2 separate regions of the Homo sapiens genome follow, and region 1 is linked to region 2. Evidence: promoter capture Hi-C in 16 types of primary human blood cells and fetal thymus (Javierre and others, 2016). All regions are on one chromosome and are shown on one strand. The core of a region is centred on a gene start or on the middle of the fragment in contact, and the rest is flanking DNA. Distances in the headings are between cores, read along the strand shown. Region 1 overlaps SORD (sorbitol dehydrogenase). Region 2 holds the start of TRIM69 (tripartite motif containing 69).

The links. The method cuts DNA at HindIII sites, captures the fragments that hold promoters and counts their contacts. A CHiCAGO score of 5 or more calls a contact.
Region 1: a fragment that was not itself captured here is called in contact with the fragment with the promoter of TRIM69 in region 2 in 1 of 17 cell types (fetal thymus); the score reaches 5.2 in fetal thymus.

The regions. Positions count from the first base shown.
Region 1 is chr15:45,025,126-45,031,590 of GRCh38, reverse strand. All of the region lies in intron 1 of SORD (sorbitol dehydrogenase), which reads right to left. Among named protein-coding and RNA genes, the nearest start is that of SORD, 5.2 kb to the right of the region's middle. RefSeq lists an enhancer at 26-320 and a silencer at 5,595-5,883. The HindIII fragment of the contact is 1,522 bases long and covers 2,247-3,768 here.
Region 2 is chr15:44,734,983-44,741,512 of GRCh38, reverse strand. It overlaps TRIM69 (tripartite motif containing 69), which reads right to left and starts at 4,985. Exons shown (of 7, transcript NM_182985.5): 1 at 4,803-4,985. The coding sequence starts at 4,808. The HindIII fragment of the contact is 591 bases long and covers 4,815-5,405 here.

The sequences.
Region 1 (6,465 bases), core at 1,758-4,257, 290 kb before region 2:
AAGTTATGACAATGGACATTCCTATGCAGGGTATAAAAACAGCAAAGAAAGTGACCATGGCCGAGAGCCTGTAGAAGCTCTGCCCGTGAGAACTCTGAGGCCTCCTCACGAACAGAGGCTGCCATAAGTTCTGCTGGGAGAAGAACAGCAACAACACTCCTCCCACTTTGTTGTTTCAAGGGAAATCCAAATCTGTTCATCAGTCAGCGTGCTGGTCTCTGGAGCTACTTGCCACGGTTCATTCCCTGTTGTTTTTTTTTTTTTGTCGTTGTTGTTGTTTTAAGAGATGGGTTCTCATTCTGTAGCCCAGGCTGGCACATTAATAGCTCACCACAATCTCGAACTCCTGGGCTCAAACGATCCTCCTACTTCAGCCTGCTGAGTAGCTGTGACTACAGGAGTGTGCTATCACACCCGGCTACTTTTTACATTTTTTGTAGAGACAAGGTCTTTCCCAGGCTGGTCTCAAACTCCTGGCCTCAAGTGATCCTCCCACCTCAGCTTCCCAAAGTGCTGAGATTACAGGTGTGAACCACCATGGCTGCCCCGACCTCCCCTATCACTGCCTGTGTGTGTTGAATATATTTGCATGATCGTTGGTATGTGAAAGCCTCACATTTAATTGGCCATTGAGTTATTGTGAAACCTCTGGGCTCCTGGTCGGAGTCAGCACAAGTAGGCTGGAACCTGACATGACAGCTGTTCAACAGGCAGTTGGTTACTGGGACTGGTGCTCAGGCATCACCTCCTGCAAGAAGCCTCCCCTGTCCTCACCAGGCTGGAGAGGTGACTCCTTTCTCTCCTTTGCACTTCTCCAGCACCTAGCATTGAATCCACACAGGATAGTTAAGGACTATTTAATTTTCATCAGGGATAAATATATTAAAATTTCCTCCTAATTCAAAGTGTATGAACATAACCATACATGATCTTATTAAATGGTTCTATATATGGAGCAAAAATTCTAAGTCTCTGAGCTTTGTCAGATGCTCTAGTCTGTTCGTGATCTTGATAAGTGCTCACTGTGTTCGGGTCTATGTAATTGAATATTTCTGTGTTTTTTAAAATTGTTGAGTTGAATATTACTTTGCAAAATTTGAATGTATTTTCCCTGGTAATTAATGTTCTTAGTGCAAACCTGATTTGGGGAAAACTGCCAGCTTCAACAGCCACACTAAAAGACTTCTAAGTTAGATGCTAATATTGTATCTACGTGTACATATTTCTCCTCCTTCTTAATTTCTGTTGTGCAGTTTTAAAGAGAAATTTCCCCTACATCCATAATTCTAGGGTCTCCCCTTAGAATAGGGCTGCTTTTATGGAATGGTAAAATCCTATTTGTGATATTGCTTGCTTCTTCTCCTGCTTTTGATAGCAAAAGGAGGTGGCCAAATGCCTAGGCAGATAGGGGTGGGTACCCAGTGAAATTCCACCTCCAAGTAGAAGACAGTTTAAAGCCGGAAAGCCAAGCTACAAGTTAAATCCTGGGACTGGATCAAGAACTTGTCTTCCTGTTTGGACGCTTTCCTCTGATTGATCCCCACCCTTCACCTATTTTACATATACCTAACCTTTCCTAAGTAGTTTTCTACACTGTTTTGCCCACCTTTGCATGGTGTCTTCACGTTAACCTTTTTTGCATACTCACAAACCCATCAATACGCACTTCCTATCCTGTGCCTATAAAGATCCCAGACTCAGTTGGTAGAGGGGGAAATGACCTGACTTCGGGGAGGAGACAACCTGACTTCTGGGAAGATGACCTGCCCTTCCCATCCCCTCTCCAGTTCCCTTCTCTGCTGAAAGCCATTTTCATTGCTCAGTAAAATTCTCCACCTTCACCATCCTTCAATCATCTGCGTGACCTCATTCTTCTTGGACACTGGACAAGAGCTCAGGGCCCACCAAGTACAGGTACCCAGAAAAGGCTGTCAAACTGGCCCTTTGCCCCTCACCAGTGGCATGCCCCGTGCAGCGAGGCAAGGGGCCAACTGAGCTGCTAACATGCCACCATCTGCAGACGGTGGAAATAAAGGAGCACTGTAACAGCCCCTCTGGGGCTTCAGGGTCATGGACACCCTTACCTGGGTGCTGCTGCATTCCCCTCAAGGAGCTTGCTCCTGTGTCAGTGCCTGGAGCAGCTGGCTGGATCCCGCACTCACTCATTCATGTGCTCCCTCCCACAAGGGGTTGAGCACGGTAGGCCCAGTACTCCACAGGTCTGGCGAAGGGGCCAAGAAAAAGCTTGCATCACTTTGAGAGGAAAATGCTACCTTTGTGCCTCATGGTCTTTCACAGACAAAGGCATTGCCTTTCCAGAGCTGTTGGTGGAGGTGGGAGTGTTTACTGGATTTAATTTCCTGTTTTGAATTTGAAATGGTATGTCCAGTTTGGGTTTTGTTTTGTTGTTAAAACATAATTAAGATAAAAGCAAGAAAGATGGTTCTTTGGGCTACTTACTGCTACCCAATTTCTCTTTTTCTGGAGGATTTTCACATTCTCTTTTCACTCTCAAGTGTCTCTGACTTGTAAGGGTTAAGTAGCCTGCATCTCATCACTATCAGGGTAATCTGGTTTAATCCAGCTCCTGCTTCATGACTATCAGCCCCTTTAATCTGATCACATAGAAGCAGCTGGCTCAGAGAAACAGACATGATGCACAGGACCATCTGAGCTGCCCATGTTCATGCCCTCTCATTATACCATCCGCTTCTCACCCCAAAATCTTAACAGTAAAGTATAGACATTTTGAATGTGCTGTATTACAGATATAGATTTATCTTATTTTTAAAAATAAATAAGAGTATTTAAAAATGCTTAGGTCAAAGCAATTCTTTTGACCTAAGGTATAATACGTTGCCTCAATGGACAAAAACTCAAGAAATATCTTCATGGACCTCCGAGTAATGTTTAAACTTGATGCCAATATATTAATTTTTCTGCCCTTTATAATTAAACAACATTAACCCATCATTCTGAAATTATTATTTTTCCCTTTAATTTATTGTCTCCTCATATAGCTGATCATAACAAAAATCTGACTACATCCCCTCCATGGTGTTGTTTCCTGGAAATGGAGCCTGTTTTGTTCCTATACTTCTCCCTGTTCAGATGCTCCTGCCTGAAGGAAGAGCCAGCTTTCAGGAAGAAGGGAGATAAAGTGCACTCAGAGGGTGATTGATGAACTGATTTGTAATGCAATGTACAGAAATTGAGAGGAGCATTTAGAAATGTTTATATAATTTTTTTGTTTGTTTTTGTTTTGAGATAGAGTCTTGTTCTGTCACCCACGCTGCAGTGCAGTGGCATGATCTTGGCTCACTGCAACCTCTGCCTCCCCATTCAAGTGATTCTCGTGCCTCAGCCTCCTGAGTAGCTGGGATTACAGGTTGTGCACCACCACACCCAGTTAATTTTTGTATTTTTAGTAGAGACAGGATTTTTGCCATGTTGGCCAGGCTGGTCTCAAACTCCTGGCCTCAAGTGATCTGCCCGCCTTGGCCTCCCAAAGTGCTGGGGTTACAGGCATGAGCCACCGTGCCTGGCTGTTTATAGCATTTTGACGTGACACAGCATTCAAATATATTGATGCAAACATATCAGTCCATGGCCGACTGGAAAAAGTAAAATTGGCCCTTCATTGTGGACAGTTTGTAAAGCCCTGTATTAAAGTTCCCAGCACATGCCTGGAATGCAGTAGGCAGTCAATATATTAATTCCCCGCATTTCCTTACCATTCGAGTGAACCCTACATTGTAAAAACAAGCTTCCCACCACCCCCACCACCAAACATAGCTTCTATGGGGTAAAAACTAATTTGACTATTTTATATTCTAACTTCATGAATCCATAATTCATTTCCTAATTAAAAGCTTCTGGGTCTCAATAGACTGATCAAAGGGGCATACAGTAATTAAACTGGTAAATACAGTGGAAAGCAAGATTATTGCCTGGGCCCACATTATAATAATTTGGTTAGGAAAACTGTTCATGTGTTTGAAGGCCCTGGTCTCCATCCACCTCTTTTTAAGCTGATATGGTTTAAGTGTCCGTCCTCAGGGGCTCTGGCTTCCTGCTTATCTCCACAGTTAGCACATACCATTAACAGTGTGCTAAATGCTGTGCTAGGCCTTTCACACGCACAATTGGTTCCACTGAATCCTCATACAACCAAAGATGAATACTACCATTATCCCCATTTCACGGGGAAGTTGAAGTGGAAAATAATTTGTTGAGTCATACAACTAGCAGCAGTAGAAGGGGGACTAAACCCCACTCTGGCTCCCCAGCCTGGTTTGGGAACTTCGTACTATTTCCATTTAGAGAGAACCCCAGCAAGCTGACACTGTTTGCTTCTTTATACATCAACTTGGTCATCAGTCCCTTTTCCTCCCTCCAACTCTCAAACTTTCTCTATTCAAAATGAAGGGAAAAGCGAAAATCCTTAAGTCTCAGATTGTTGTTTCGTTTTGTTCTCCTAACTATAAAAGAAAACCACTGGTCTTAGTGTGTGTCTGACTTACCACCCAATTTATAAATGCTCCTCCTTGCTGTGGTCAAGGTGATCATTAACTAATTAGTAGGTGAGGAGTTTAATTTTTTGTTCCGTGCAGCCATACATCAAGAAAGAAGAGAATGGTGCAGTCTCCTTAGGCAGTAGGGAGGCTGTGTGGTAGGTTTCCTTCCTGCCAGTTAAAGGACAAGTAAAGTGGACTAAGGTCGCATTCCCCCACAGAACCACTGCCCCAGACGCTGGCTGGTTCCTGGCCTTATCTCAAGTAGGATGGCAGCAGTGGGAAAGGTTGAGACATTGCTTCCTGCTTCAGAATGCTTTGGAAACCTGCTTCAGATTTTAGGAATGATTTATACACTTTTTGGAAAGCAAATAATGATGTAAGTTAAATGATACACTTTTCCCTTGAAAATTTATACATTTTTTGAAAAGATCTTAGGAATGAGAGTTTCCCCAAACAACTCCCTTCATAGGAGTTCCTGAGGCACTGAACCATTTTATCAGTAGACCCTGCCCCCCTGTATACCTAAATCGGCCACAGTTTGCTGGGCTGCAGTTCCCCAGCCAGCCAGAAATGGAAGGGTTTTTAATCTGTGGCTGGTGGTCTTACATCAAAAGAAGAAAACAGTCAAATTCTCCCCACTTCCTCTTATCTTTTTTGTAGTTCATATCCAACCAAGGCTTTTTTCCCCCCAAAATGCATTTGCTGACAATTTATTAAGCCCAGGAAATTCTGGGTTTCATTTTGGTCCTCTTGCAGAGAGGAAAATGGGTGGTTCCCCTCAAAGCTTCCCCAGGATTGTTCCTCCTAGTTGCTATCTCTGGTTTACTACTGACCCCAAACCCAAGCCACTGAGCCTATTTGTCTTAAGGAAAAGATGGAGGAGCAGTGATACCACACTCGGGGTCTGGGTTGGGCACTGTGGAGGTGCTGGTGGAAGACCATGCCTGAGAAGGAGTGGCGAGGGCCCAGAAGGTCTGTGTTGAGCTGCAGGTGCACCTGAGGCAGCACAGTGGGTCTCCTCTGCTGACAACTCTTTCTGCCCTTTCCCCTCCAGTGTTGGGGCTCTCTCCAGGGTAATGTCCTCCTCTTCTTTCCTTCTCACTCTACATGGTTCACTCAGCCCAGGCAAGCTCAGCCATCCATAATTCCCCATAGGGCACTATTTGGGACAGGACAACTCTTTGTTGTGCAAGATAGCACTATGAACTGAATAAAGTCCGCAGTAGTGCTCCTCAGTCATCGTGACAACCAAGCCTCCCTGACACATTTCCAAATGTCTCCTGGGTGGCGGGGCAGTGCAGTACTGCTCAGTAGAGGAGCAAAGGACTCCTGAGTTTACATTTCCACCCCTGATAGTATCCCTGCACTCCAGACCCCTGCACCCAAGGAAATTTCTCAAAGGCACCTTGTGTCCTGTCCCAGAGACATCTTTTTTTTTTTTTTTTTTTTGACATAGTTTTGCTGTCATTCAGGCTGGAGTGCAGTGGTACGATCTCAGTTCATTGCAATCTCTGACTCCCAGACTCAAGCGATTCTCAGCTTCCCAAGTAGCTGGGATTACAGGCATGTGGCACCACACCCAGCTAATTTTTGTATTTATAGTAGAGACAGTTTCACCGTGTTGGCCAGGTTGGTCTCAAACTCCAGACCTCAAGCGATCTGCCTACCTTGGCCTTTCAAAGTGCTGGGATTACAGGCATCAGCCACCACACCTGGCCTCCAGAGACATCTTAAACTCAACTTTTCAAACCTGATCTCATCATTTTAATCTACTCTGACTAGTAAATGACGCTACCACTTCCCATTCTCAAACTGAGCCTAGGTGTTTTCCTAAATCCTCCTCTGAACTCTTTTACCCAGCTAGTGTTCCAGCACACAACCAAAGGTGAAATTCTCTAGCCCATCATATTTTCTAGATACTTCAGGTTACAGCCACCCCAACCTAGCC
Region 2 (6,530 bases), core at 3,736-6,235:
CTTTTTGAAGGGTTTATTGTGTCTCTTTTTCCTTCAGTTCTGCTCTGATTTTAGTTATTTCTTGCCTTCTGCTAGCTTTTGAATGTGTTTGCTCTTGCTTTTCTAGTTCTTTTAATTGTGATGTTAGGGTGTCAATTTCGGATCTTTCCTGCTTTCTCTTGTGGGCATTTAGTGCTATAAATTTCCCTCTACACACTGCTTTGAATGTGTCCCAGAGATTCTGGTATGTTGTGTCTTTGTTCTCATTGGTTTCAAAGAACATCTTTATTTCTGCCTTCATTTTGTTAGGTACCCAGTAGTCATTCAGGAGCAGGTTGTTCAGTTTCCATGTAGTTGAGCGGTTTTGAGTGAGTTTCTTAATCCTGAGTTCTAGTTTGATTGCACTGTGGTCTGAGAGACAGTTTGTTATAATTTCTGTTCTTTTACATTTGCTGAGGAGAGCTTTACTTCCAACTATGTGGTCAATTTTGGAATAGGTGTGGTGTGGTGCTGAAAAAAATGTATATTCTGTTGATTTAGGGTGGAGAGTTCTGTAGATGTCTATTAGGTCCGCTTGGTGCAGAGCTGAGTTCAATTCCTGGGTATCCTTGTTAACTTTCTGTCTCGTTGATCTGCCTAATGTTGGCAGTGGGGTGTTAAAATCTCCCATTATTATTGTGTGGGAGTCTAAGTCTCTTTGTAGGTCACTCAGGACTTGCTTTATGAATCTGGGTGCTCCTGTATTGGGTGCATATATATTTAGGATAGTTAGCTCTTCTTGTTGAATTGATCCCTTTACCATTATGTAATGGCCTTCTTTGTCTCTTTTGATCTTTGTTGGTTTAAAGTCTGTTTTATCAGAGACTAGGATTGCAACCCCTGCCTTTTTTTGTTTTCCATTGGCTTGGTAGATCTTCCTCCATCCTTTCATTTTGAGCCTATGTGTGTCTCTGCATGTGAGATGGGTTTCCTGAATACAGCAAGCTCCATCAGCTCCTTTAAGCACTTCTCTGTATTGGTTATTCTAGTTATACATTCATCTAAATTCTTTTCAAAGTTTTTAACTTCTTTGCCTTTGGTTTGAATTTCCTCCTGTAGCTCGGAGTAGTTGGATCATCTGAAGCCTTCTTCTCTCAACTTGTCAAAGTCATTCTCCATCCAGCTTTGTTTTGTTGCTGGTGAGGAACTGCGTTCCTTTGGAGGAAGAGAGGCGCTCTGCTTTTTAGAGTTTCCAGTTTTCCTGCTCTGTTTTTTCCCCATCTTTGCGGTTTTATCTACTTTTGGTCTTTGACGATGGTGATGTACAGATGGGTTTTTGGTATGGATGTCCTTTCTGTTTGTTAGTTTTCCTTCTAACAGACAGGACCCTCAGCTGCAGGTCTATTGGAGTTTGCTAGAGGTCCACTCCAGACCCTGTTTGCCTGGGTATCAGCAGCGGTGGCTGCAGAACAGTGGATTTTCGTGAACCGCGAATGCTGCTGTCGATCATTCCTCTGGAAGTTTTGTCTCAGAGGAGTACCCGGCCATGTGAGGTGTCAGTCTGCCCCTACTTGGGGGTGCCTCCCAGTTAGGCTGCTAGGGGGTCAGGGGTCAGGGACCCACTTGAGGAGGCAGTCTGCCCATTCTCAGATCTCCAGCTGCGTGCTGGGAGAACCACTGCTCTCTTCAAAGCTGTCAGACAGGGACATTTAAGTCTGCAGAGGTTACTGATGTCTTTTTGTTTGTCTGTGCCCTGCCCCCAGAGGTGGAGCCTACAGAGGCAGGCAGGCCTCCTTGAGCTGTGGTGGGCTCCACCCAGTTCGAGCTTCCCGGCTGCTTTGTTTACCTAAGCAAGCCTGGGCAATGGTGGGCGCCCCTCCCACAGCCTCGCTGCCGCCTTGCAGTTTGATCTCAGACTGCTGTGCTAGCAATCAGCGAGACTCCATGGGCGTAGGGCCCTCCGAGCCAGGTGCAGGATATAATCTCCTGGTGCACCGTTCTTTAAGCCCGTCGGAAAAGCACAGTATTAGGGTGGGAGTGACCCAATTTTCCAGGTGCCGTCTGTCACCCCTTTCTTTGACTAGGAAAGGGACCTCCCTGACCCCTTGCGCTTCCCGAGTGAGGCAATGCCTCGCCCTGCTTCGGCTCACGCACGGTGCGCTGCACCCACTGTCCTGCGCCCACTGTCTGGCACTCCCTAGTGAGATGAAACTGGTACCTCAGATGGAAATGCAGAAATCACCCGTCTTCTGCATCGCTCACGCTGGGAGCTGTAGACCAGAGCTGTTCCTATTCAGCCATCTTGGCTGCCCCCTCCGTGTGTTTTTAAAGTATGTTTAAAATATATAGCGGTTACCAAGGCAGGGCAAAGAGGAACGGGAAGTGACTGATAATGGGTATGGAATTTCTTTTGGGGATAATGAAAATGTTCTGGAATTAGATAGTGGTGATAATTGTACAACTTTGTGAATATGCTATAAATCACTGAATTGTAAACTTCAAAAGGGTGAGTTATATGATATGAAAATATATTTAATGTTATTAATTATTGATATTATATGATTGACTGGTTTTATATGGTTAATTCATCTTGCTAGCTGAGGGTTTGCCAATTCCCCTGACTTTCAATAATATATCCTTTTCTGTAAAACAAGGGATTAATTATATTAGCTAATATTTACTGAGCATTCACTGTGGAAGAGGATTTACATACATTATTTCATTTAATCTCAGAACAACCCTATGAAATACGTATTATTACTACATATTTTAAGGAAACTGAAGCTCAGATTGCTTCAAGTATCTTCCCAGAGTCACAATTATTAAGTAGTGGGTCTCAGATTTGAACTCTTTATTTGACCCCAAAGCCTATTAACCACTGAGTCAGCAGAGAGCCCATCAATATGTTTTGTGGAATTGAATTTATTAAATGGATCAAATTTGTGAAGCAAAATATCTGCAATAACTTCCTACTGCTCTAGAGGGAGCTATAGAATTGGAAACCAAATGAGAGTCTAAAATTTCTGGACCTGGAAATCTTTTAGGAAACACATCTACTGCCAGCCCCTTTTAGGGGAAGAAGTCTAACCTTAAGGCAGAGAGAGAGAAACTCGAGTCAGGAATTGATATTCATCCTTATAAAGCCCTGGCTGGCAGGAATCACTTTATAAGAAAGCACATCAGCAGGTCACGATGGCCCAGGCCTGTAATCTTAGCCTCACTTTGGGAGGCTGAGGCAGGAGGATCACCTGAGGTCAGGAGTTGGAGACAAGCCTGGGTAACATGGTGAGACCTCATCTCTACTAAAAAAAAAAATAATAATACAAAAATTAGCCAGGCGTGGTGGTGCGTCCCTGCAGTCCCAGCTATTTGGGATGCTGAGGCATGAGAATCACTTGAACCCTGGAAGCGGAGGTTGCAGTGAGCTGAGATGGTGCCACTGCACTCCAGCCTGAGCAAGAGAGTGAGACTCTGTCCTAAAAAAAAAAAAAAAAAAAAAAGAAAGAAAGAAAGTATGTATCTTCCTCCTTCAGTTCACTGTGCACATTCTCAAAGAGCAGAGAAAAGGCAAAGAGCTATGAAGTCCATGGAAGCTTGCATAAGAAATCCTTAATTTTTACCAGAGATTTTTTTTTCCTGAGAAGTTTTGTGTTGTAAATTTTTGAAATCATAGTTAAGATATCTAAGGAGAGTTCATTTGTTGCTTTTCAACCTTTATTCCTTCAAAGTAATTTTTAAACTTTGATGGGCAGTTTTTATGAAGAATTAACTTTGAGAGCAGAAAAATACAGTTCATCCACAGAGACAAACTATATAGCACAGCCAGCTTAAACCTAAGAGCAAGACACACTCCTGCTTCACGAGTCAAGCCATTTGCACATAAGAAGGCAAGATTCTGAACTTTCTGACTTCTTGGAGCTTCCCAGAGTTGAAAGAAATTTTAAGCCATTTAATTCACTCCTTTCCAACCTCTGCCTGAACATCTGAAGTAATGGGAAACTCACTATCACACAAACAATTTTTTTACTATTATGGAAAAGTGTCTATTTTCACTGACTTGGCCTTAAAGTAATAAGAATATAGTAGGTTTAGGCAATAGTGTTTATTTTTGCCCTAGAAATTATAAACAAAATGCTTATAGCCCTGTTTGCTTCAATAGCTAAGCACAGAGATGAGTAGCAGCAAACCTAAAGGTCCTATGATAGAGGAAATTAGAAACTGATCTTAATGATTAATATAATGAAATTAAACTTTATAAGAAGTGGAAACTAGTGGAAATGGATGATAACTCAGGATTCAAGGGCCCCTGAAAAACCCTTAGTGAGTTTTTCAAGCTTTCATGTAGTAAATAACCATTTTCTTTTGTTTGACAATCAGGAAAACACTAAGTTCAGAAGAACATAACTTCCTTTATTTTAGCTCTGAAGAGGTCTTAAAGGAAGAATTCAATTAAAAATGTTTACTATCTAAGTATCAACTCTGCCTTAAATATAAAATAATCAAATGTGAAGGTATTGTAAGCAAACCAAGTTATACATAATAATTTTTAAATCTAAAATAAAATGATTACATTGATAATGAAAGTAAATTGTATATAGTATATAGTTTATTTTTTCTCAAAATGTTTTGGTGGATTTCATTACTTTCCTACCAGCTTCTCTAGTATAAATTATCAGTTATTCCAAGGCTTGGAGAGAGTATAGTAGCTACCAGCTGTCACAAGTTAAATACTTCCCTTCATGAATTTCCTTTTGTGCTCCTAAATCCATATCCTCTTCTATGATCCTGTTTTCCACACTATTCCTAGAAGCCCTGCTAAGTTAAAAAAAAAAAGGGTCACTCACCTCCATGAAGCTTCAGCCCACCAAGGGGCAGAGGCAGGCACTTGAATCAGAGCTCAGCAGGCCCAGGATGGCTGCAGACTGGGAGTCAGGGACCTTTTAGTTTTCAAGGAATGGGCTCAGAGCATGATGGAAGAAAGAAAAGTTCAGGAGCTGGAGAGAAGCAGCAAGGCCAGAGTGAGGTCTGGCAGATTCCGTGACAGTTTGTCAGTTAACTTTGATCATCATTTGCTTAAGAGAAAGAGAAACCCTCATTAGAATACCCTACCTGCCCAACTTTTCTTTTGTAGGAGACAAGGGCAGCTCATTTAGATTCGAGTTAGTGGTCTAATCTTAAGGTTCATAGCTCCCCATTTCTGGACTAAGGATGCTCTATGAAAGAGGAAATACACGTCAGCAGCAGCCTATATTAAGCCTAACTCATGAAAAATAACCACCTCACCCCTGTTCATGATCCCATCACACCATCAAGACACCAGCTGAGTGGCTTTAATAGAGAGCTAGTTCACCTCTCATATTCCAATGAAGCAGCCCTGATTTTATCTCTGAGACAGTAACACAGGCCTGGGAAACACCAGGCCCTAAGAAAGCAGGATGAAAAAAGCTTCATTTCATACAGCTTTCTTCAGCAGTTTTAGCTCGCAGAGAGATGTACCAACACTGTGCTCCTGAGTGACTTATAAAGAGCCACCACAGAGCCAAACAGTTTTTCTTACAGTAGTTCCTCTAACTCAATATGATTTCTTGCACGTCTAGCTCCTGCCTAGCTGTCCAGACTTAATGACCACAGCTCTTTCCCCAGTGTTTGGGATCGCCCAAATATGTCACGCTTCTGCAGCTTTGTATATGTTGTCCCTTCGGATGGGAGTTTCCCTTCCCCCACACCCCCGTCATTATCTCTTTACTAAACTCTTCCCTAACCACCCCCTCATCCCCAAACCAAGCTTTACCCACTTCCCTGTCTCTTGTAGAAGATATTTTGCTGGCTCTATACCAGAGGTTACCAACCTCAGCCCTATTGATATTTTGGGCCTGCTAAGTCTTACGTTAGAGGGGCTGTCCTGTGAATTTTAGGATATTTAGCAGTGTCCCTGGCGTTTACACACTAGATGCCTGTAGCCACCCCCCCCCCACCAAACCCAGTCATAACAAAAATGTCTCCAGTCATTGCCAAATGTCTCCTGGGGGCAGGGGTTGGAATCACTCCCCAGTTGAGAAACACAGCTTTACTCCCTTCCTTCCTTCCTTCCTTCCTTCCTTCCTTCCTTCCTTCTTTCCTTCCTTCCTTCCTTCCTTCCTTCTTTCCTCTTTCTTTTTTTCTTTCTCTTTCTTTCTTTCTCTCTCTTTCTGTTTTCTTTCTCCCTTTCTTTCTCTCTCTGTTTCTTTCTCTTTCTTCCTTTCTTTTTCCTCTTTCTTTCTCTCTTGCTCTCTTTCTTTCTTTCTCCCTTTCTTTCTCTTTCTCTTTCTTTCCTTCTTTTCTTTTCTTTTTTCTTTTCTTTCTGACAGGGTCTCACTATGTTGCCTAGGCTGATCTCAAATTTCTGAGCTCAAGCTGTCCTCCCACCTCAGCCTCACAAAGTGCTAGGATTACAGGTGTGAGCAACACCACGCCTGGCCTAGTTTTACACATTTCTATAGCACCCTAGATCTTTGTACACGTGGCTTTAACAGAGTGTATTCTAATTGTTTGATTGCATGTCTGCCCCTCCACTAAGTTGTGAACAAACCACA